2 separate regions of the Homo sapiens genome follow, and region 2 is linked to region 1. The links are contacts of gene promoters, found by promoter capture Hi-C in blood cells and fetal thymus (Javierre and others, 2016). All regions are on one chromosome and are shown on one strand. The core of a region is centred on a gene start or on the middle of the fragment in contact, and the rest is flanking DNA. Distances in the headings are between cores, read along the strand shown.

Evidence for each region. Contacts are between HindIII fragments. The CHiCAGO score rates a contact against its expected background, and 5 or more counts as called.
Region 2: a contact is called between a fragment that was not itself captured here and the fragment with the promoter of CLCN5 in region 1, in 1 of 17 cell types (fetal thymus). The highest score is 5.9, in fetal thymus.

The regions. Positions count from the first base shown.
Region 1 is chrX:49,919,950-49,923,895 of GRCh38, forward strand. CLCN5 (chloride voltage-gated channel 5) reads left to right here and starts at 2,647. Exons shown (of 15, transcript NM_001127898.4): 1 at 2,647-2,843; 2 at 3,458-3,533. RefSeq lists a silencer at 2,909-2,958. The HindIII fragment of the contact is 4,286 bases long and covers 1-3,410 here.
Region 2 is chrX:49,874,851-49,878,685 of GRCh38, forward strand. USP27X-DT (USP27X divergent transcript) reads right to left here. Exons shown (of 2, transcript NR_026742.1): 2 at 1,874-3,835. Among named protein-coding and RNA genes, the nearest start is that of USP27X-DT, 2.6 kb to the right of the region's middle. RefSeq lists an enhancer at 14-514. The HindIII fragment of the contact is 6,269 bases long and covers 1-3,835 here.

The DNA.
Region 1 (3,946 bases), core at 1,397-3,896:
TCTCCCAAATAAACCTGTATGTACTTTAAGTAAAGCCAATATGTTTGCTCTGCAGAGGCAGTTTCGTGACATGTCTCCTTCCAACCAGACTGCCATCCTTCAAACCGTTTTTTCCTGTATCAGAGGAAGAGGTGTCCGAGGTTAGTTTGTGTTTTGAATCTCATTTCTCGCCTCTCAATTATTTTACTCCATTAGTTATCCCCTCCTTTTCTTGACTCTTTTGTGTGTGTATGTGAGACAGAGTTTCGCTCTTGTTTCCCAGGCTGGAGTGCCGTGGTGCGATCTCGGCTCACTGCAAATTCTGCCTCCTGGGTTCAAGTTATTCTCCTGCCTCAGCCTCCTGAGTAGCTGGGATTACAGGCGCCAGCCACCATGCCTAGCCATGTATTTTTAGTAGAGATGGGGTTTCATCATGTTGGCCAGGCTGGTCTCGAACTCCTGACCTCAAGTGATCCACCTGCCTTGGCCTCCCAAAGTGCTGGGATTACAGGCGTGAGCCACTGCACCCGGCCTCTTGCCTCTTTATTATTGATTTCACCAGTAGTTTTTCTGCTCGACCTACATATAAGCTCCAGTTTCTTCTACTTCAATGACAAAAAAAAAAATCAAGCAAACAATCAAACCTTTCCTTGAACAATTACTCTAGATTCACCTTTTAAAAGATGAATTCCAAAAGAGGATTGCCTTGCTCAGAAACCTCAATTCTTTCTCAGTCACTTTTTGAATTAGGTATAAATCTTAGTCCAATATTCAGGATGCTCCAAAATTGGGCCCCAATTTACCTTCTGGGTATTATCTTCCACAATTCCCCTGTACTTCCTTACCCTAAACTTCAACCACATAGGACTACTCACGGGTCCTCACATATAACTTCCTGCCTGCTCACCTTTGCCAACGGTGTTACCTCCACTTGGATTTACCTTTATTAGAGGCCTGTACTGATATTTTCTAGTTATTTGTGGCTATCCCATACACCATGAGTGCCTGAAGGAAGGGACTGAATGTTACCAGCTCAGAAAGCAAAAAAATTTTGGACTGAAAAAATAAAAATCCGGCCATTCATCAGGCCGGAATAACACACAGATAAAACCAGATGCAAATTTAACAGAGAACAATATTTCTTTGGCGGACATATTGCAGCTGTAAAGTGGTAACGATGTTTTTATTTCAGTGACCACCACTTTTTTATTCACTGAGAGACTTTGTTCTCTAAAATCGTAGATTATCAGAAACTTTTCTGCTTGAAATCGTATCAGTAAGAATGAAACATCCCACATGCATCTGGAGGACATAAGTTTCTTTGACACAGAGAAGCAGCCTCAATTTCCAACCCAGGTGCAGAGCTTCAGATAAGGGGTATCTGGACACAACATTCCACATCTATCTTTATTTTGTGGTTCCCAAGGAAACACAACTCTGGGTTCACTTTGCAGTTCAGACCTGATGGTGACCCCAAATGACAGTACTGCTTTGCTTTGAGCTTACCAAAAACACTGCTTTGTTTAAAATTCACCTAAACTCCACTCTTCTCTCCAATCCTATAATGACTCCATGTTTTTCTGTTTGATGAAATGCCTACCGTGTGCAGTCTCTCATATTGCAATGGGTCAAAGCCTGACTATGTCGGATTACAAATTTGTCCCCGGTAGCCTTATGCTGATTGGGCTAGGATAGGGGTTTTTAAATCCCTGACCACTTAGCTTGTCCAAAGTAGGCATTCCAAATTGTTCACTGCAGTAGAGTACCCTGGTTCTAGTTAGATTACTTGGATTATATGGATTCCAGTCTCAGGTCTGCCAAGAACTAATTAGCTGGATCATCTTAAGTGAGTCAGTGCACCCCATTTGGCCTAAGTTTTCTCTTCTGCAAAACGGTGTGCTGTTTCTTTCAAACCTAGGGTAAGGGCTTTGGAGTAAGTTAGACCTAGGTTGGATTCCCAGTTCTACCACGTACTAGTCCTGTGACTTCAGCTTTTCTGAGCCTCTGTTTTGTAATGATTAATATGGAGATAATACAGTACTAACAACTGCAGTATAGTTTTTGCAGCGTTGCTGGAAACATCAAGTTGGCTGTTAAAAGTATCACTACGTTTGATCACTATTCCTATTCCTACTATTATATGAGTTTAGACAAGTTACTTAACCTTTCTGTGCCTGTGTATTTTTATGAGTAAAAATGGAGAAATAACCCTCGGGGTTATTGTGAACACCAAATGAGACGAAAAAAGTAAAGGGGTTAGGAGAGTGCCTGGCACATAAGAAGCAGCTCAAATTATGTGATCTAATGTTATTAGTATTAGATTTCTACTACTAATTACTCTGTGGGCCGAAAGCTCAGGATAGACAGTTTCATTCTAAGGACAAACCTTCTCCCCAGCAAAAAAAGGCACTGCAAGCTGGAAATAGTGAAACACAATGGGGCATTGCGTTTTCAAAGGCAACTGACACGCCCAGCACTGGGATAGGACCCGCCCGCCCAGTCCTCATTAAATATGGCAGCGAGCGGGGCCGACGTACTGCGGCTGCGCAAGTTGAAACTCCTCCTGGCAGCTCCTCCCCGGCGGGCCTCCCCTCATCTCGGCTGGGTAGAGGTGCCGGGTGTGAGCTCGGCGTGGCGCGCACGCGCAGACGCTGGCTGGGCTGAGCCGATACTCGCGAGGCGCCCTGTCACATGAGCCGCGCGCCCGCTTCGCTCCCCCTCCTCCCCGGCTGGGCTGTGTGAATGAAGCTCTGCCGGCTACGTGGGGCGCTCACTCAACTTGGTGTCCTGGACGCCAGAGCCGACCGAGCGCGCTGCCCACCGGCGGCGGACACGGGCTCCGCCGCTCCGGACCTCGGCGACAGGTAAAGGCAAACGGGCTGTCCCTTCCCCAACAGGTCCTTGGCGGGCCGCTGGCCCCCGGCCCACCCCCGGAGCACCCCCTAAGCGCAGCGACACAGGGGAAGCGCAATCCCGCTGGCTTGGACCCCCGGAGATGGGGCTTCCCCGCGCCCGGCGTTGGCAGCCCGGCGCTTAGAGGAGGTAGACAGGCTAGTTCCAGCCAGTGCTGAGCGGCGTCTTCCCGGGAGCCCAGCCCTGTTCTCCGAGTTATGGTCCCTGGGTTGCCCGAGCGAAGTTTCCTTGCGGAGCGGCGCCAAGCCCGCCCCGCTTTTGAATCGGAGTGTTTAGCCGCCTGCGTCCCCTTTCCCGGACTGGGGTAGGGTGACTTAGGCTGGCAAAGCTCAGCCGAGGCCCGGCTCTTCTCCCTCCGGCTCTGGACTTGCCGCTGGTTTTGTATGGGTCTTAGCAAAGTGGAGAAACTCTCGGAAAAGTAGTTGCTGCGCTGTTTTCCTTTTGCCACTTAACGCGCGTAGCTGGTTCTCTCCAGACTTTCGAGCCTTGCTCTTGAGCGCCTTGATCCACACGGGAAAAGCTTTGCCTTTACATTGACGCACGTTTCCTTTGATTAACATTTCAGAGCAAATCAGTTGCCTGGAGTTCCCAGTGAAGTTGTACCTGTGCCCGTGCGATAACGTCAGTGGAAGCTGCCCCGAGTAAGTGAGGGAAATCTAGAAGTTTGGAGCATAAAAAACCAGCACGAATCAACTTTACATAAACTTCATACATTTATTAGCAACTGCTCGGGTTTAACTTCAGGGATGTTAAATTTCGCCTAGTCCCACGGGACGATGATCATTACTTCTTAACTGCACGCGAAATAGGAGAAGAAAAAAGGCAAATCAAAACAGACTGTCCCAGGTCTCAGAGAAGTCATCGGAGCGCTTTTTCCTGCTGAATTCACCCTAGGAGTTTGTGAGTTCCTAGTTTTCTTGGACTTCGCGAACTTTTCCTTGTCCAAAGCACTGTCTTTTCTCTGTTGGTGTTTTGGGACTGGTGTACACATTAACCCTTTTGTCATTAAAGAAGGCCAACACGATTCTCAAGCTAGTATTAGCCTTCAGTGTTT
Region 2 (3,835 bases), core at 1,135-3,634, 45 kb before region 1:
CGCACAGCAGGAGGTGAGCAGCGGGCGGGCCAGCATTATGGCCTGAGCTCCGCCTCTTGTCAGATCAGCAGCGGCATTAGATTCTCATAGGAGCATGAACGCTATTGTGAACTGTGCATGCGAGGGATCTAAGTTGCACGCGCCTTATGAGAATCTAATGCCTGGTGATCTGAGGTGGCACAGTTTCATCCGGAAACCATCTCCCCGCCCCTGAAGCCCCCCATCCCTTCCCAACCGCCGTTAAAAAAAAAAAGTCTTCCACAAAACGGGTCCCTGGTGGTGCCAAACAGGTTAGGGATCGCTGCCCTAAACAATAGAGTACGGCAACTATTTACATAGCATCTGCATTGTATCAGGTATGATACAAAAAGTAACCTAGAGATGATTCAAAGTAACCTAGAGATGATTCAAAGTAACCTAGAGATGATTCAAAGTATATGAGGGGCTGTGTATAGGTTATATGCAAATACTACACAACATTTTATATCAGGGACCTGAATCTCTATGGATTTTGGTATCCACAGGGGTCCTGGAACCAATCTCCCACGGATTACCAAGGGACAACTGCATGTATAAAACATGCTTGTATTTGCATAGACAATTTCTTAAAGGCTAAATGTGAAAGTGCTAACAAGTAGTTATCTCAGGGGAATAAAAATGGGTGTGATTGGCGGGGGAGGGAAGAGCTTTAACTTTTCATGTTATGCCTTGTATACCTTGTTATTAAAAAAACACGAATATTGTATATATTACTTTTATAATAATAAATATAAACTAGCAACTTTTAAAGTGGAATGTGCATCACCCTGGAGTACAGGAGTTTTAAGGGGATCAATTTCTATATCCTCAAATTTCCTGTGTAGTCTTTTAAAATTGACCTGCCAGAGAACATACTTGCAGTGTAGGAATCAAACTGGTTCTCTTTTTCTATCTCCCCTTTCACAATGGTCCTTTTTGCACTTTACAAAAGAAAAAGCATATCTTTTACCTATCCTGAATCTTAACCTGGGTGCGCTGCCCTGTGATGTAAAATCCTTGGGGCACAGGAGAGACAATTCCGAACAATGCTGACGATGGTAAACAAACAACTTGCTCTAACAAATGAATGGGGATAAAATCCTTTTGCAACTCAGATGGTTTCCAATTCTTTGCTTCCAGTAGAATTGAAGAAAAAACCTATGAAGTTATCAGCTGATAAATCATGAGAAATAATTTTGAGGATAAATCATTGTGTAATTTCCCCCCATATATCTCCAAAGGAATTCAAAGACTTGCGTGCATTGCTAAAACAAAATGTCCATTCCTATTCACTTATTCATATAAATGAGGTTTCTGTGTGCTAACATTTAACCAAACAAAAAATAGGAAGAGAATTGATGCTGAAGCCTATCTCATTCTAGCAAAAAGCAATGTTTATCCATGGATACACCCATTAATTTTTTTTAAAAAAGCCCTATCTACAATGAACTTTTGTTTTACGTTTAATAATTACCTATCAAAATTTGTAATATATTCACAATGTTTTGATCCATTTTATTCTAATACTAATTGTCATGATAATTCAAACAAGAGCAAATTTTTAAACAACACTTAGAGCCTTATAATCAGAGGAACATTTAAAGAGCATTTAAATTGAAAAATATATACACATTTTTGCTGCAGAGAAATACGATAGGATAATCAAAAACATTTCAAGTGAAAAAACAGACAATTATTGAGACAAAATTCTGTTGGAAAAACAGAATGGAATTAAGAGCTGAGAAAAGGGAAAATGTACAACTTCCAAGTATCAAAGAAGAGCTCAGTTATACATTTTTAAAACAGATGATGGTGGCTCTCAAGTCACTAAGGTATTTAGGTTTCACCGGATTCATGTGAAATAGTGACATAACAGTTTTATTTTTGAATATTAACATTTGTCACAAATTACATTATTTGTAGCCAATTGACATTTGTGATGCAAAATATCAGACATCAACCCAAAAATGTGTGAAGGAGCACACGTTTTTCTTAATATTTTTAGAGAGCATTTTATATAAACCAATAGTTTTATATAAACATACAAAACATATATGAGGAATTGTCATTTACTCTTTTGCCACCTTGTGGTCAGAGTTGGATTTATCACCCAGGTGCATCTACTGCGAAGGAGAGCTGTCTCTCCTAAGGATAGCCCCAACTGCCTGCATTCTGTCAGATCTTTGTGAGGCAGAGATGGTAACATTTGCTAGGATCTGGGTCCAGATCCACATAAGGACAAAGCATCTAAAGATTTTGGTGACACCCTCCACACGTGATTCAAAACAAAAGCATCATGTAATCAGGAAATGAATGTAAGGAAGTACAACAAAGTTCTGATTTTTCCCACGAGGACTACTTAAAAAAAATCAAATGTCAAACTGTTTCTGGTATTTTTTCTTTTTTGATTTTTTGTCTTTGGTGCCTCTTCTCTGCTAGTGACATAGACTTTCCTTAGTGTGCCTTTTGGGGAAGCCATCCCTGATTTCAGTAGCCCTGGAGTAAGTTGGAGTGCTGTGTCCACAGCTCTTGGTACATCTGGCCCTCGGTCAGTGCAGAATAAACATTTGTTGAGTGAATGGTGACAGAGCCCTCCATTTTCAGAACACGCTGGCCTGGGCAGAGTCCAGGTGGACCTATGGGCTTCTGCAGGAAGTTGATCACTAAGTCAACAAGTTACCATGGCTAATCTTCAATGGTAGACAGTCCCAGGTACACAGAGATCTTTAGGTCTTTTTGTTGTCAGTCTGGAGGTGGGATGAGAGTATCCTCCACCCCCTCATCCATGACCTCGGTTGTTTTTAGCAGCAGCAGCAGCAGCAGGATTCCTTCAGTGAGTGTGCTAGTTGCAGTTCCTCTGGTTGCAGGCCACAAAGGGCAGGCATTTATTGAAAGGATGCTGGGGTGCTTCAAGGAATTGAAGCAAGAGCTGACTCAGGAAGGGTAGGGCCCAGGGCAACCCTCAGTTTTATGGGAACCACGCATCCTCCTTTCAAGGGCTCCTGATTCCTGAGGCCCAACTCCTGCTGCTAACCCTAGGAGGCCTCCCCATCCCCTCCCTAGAGGAAGGGGCCAGGTGGAGAGCTGATGTCCAGTGCTGAGCAAGGAGAATGTTGCTAGGGTATGTATACTCAGGCAGCACAGCCACACAAGCCAGACAGCGTGCACTAGGCTACAGCCAGCCACCACCAGGATTAGGGGACTAGACTCTTCCTAGAACACTCTTTCTCCTCCTACTCCTGTCCTGATGCCTGCCCTGGGCTGCACTCTCTGGGACCAGCAGCTACAGCCCGACACCCTCGAGCCATGACCCAGGTCTGAGCCACTTGCTCTGGGCACACTCCTCGTGGGCTCTGGGGTGCTGCTGCCCAGTGCCAGCAGCCCCTTGGCACAGGGGTTCCCAGAGGCCTCTCAGCCTCATGTCCGACTCCCTCTCCCTGCTGGCAGCTCCACAGGCTTCTTTCCACTTCCACCTGCTGCCCCCCTCCCCCGGGATGCTGCCAGGGCTTAAGGGTCTTGGGAGTGTGTCCTGTAGTTTAGGCCCCCTCTCAGCTGTAGGGGAAGTGCCAGCTGTAGGGATGGCCTTGTCGTGCCTCGTCCCTCCAGCTGGCCTTGGAGAGAAGAGGTGGATTGTGCCATCGGGCTGCTCAGCGTCTGCTGGGCCAGGAGGCCGGCTGTCAAGCCATTAACCCACCCGTGGCCTTGGGAGCCCAGGAGGACGCGAGCAGCAGGCCCAGACCCTGCAGAGCGCTGATAAGATGGGCCAGGGACGCGCCTCTCCAGGCCCAGCGGCCTTGGTAGCCCGGCCCCCCCGGAG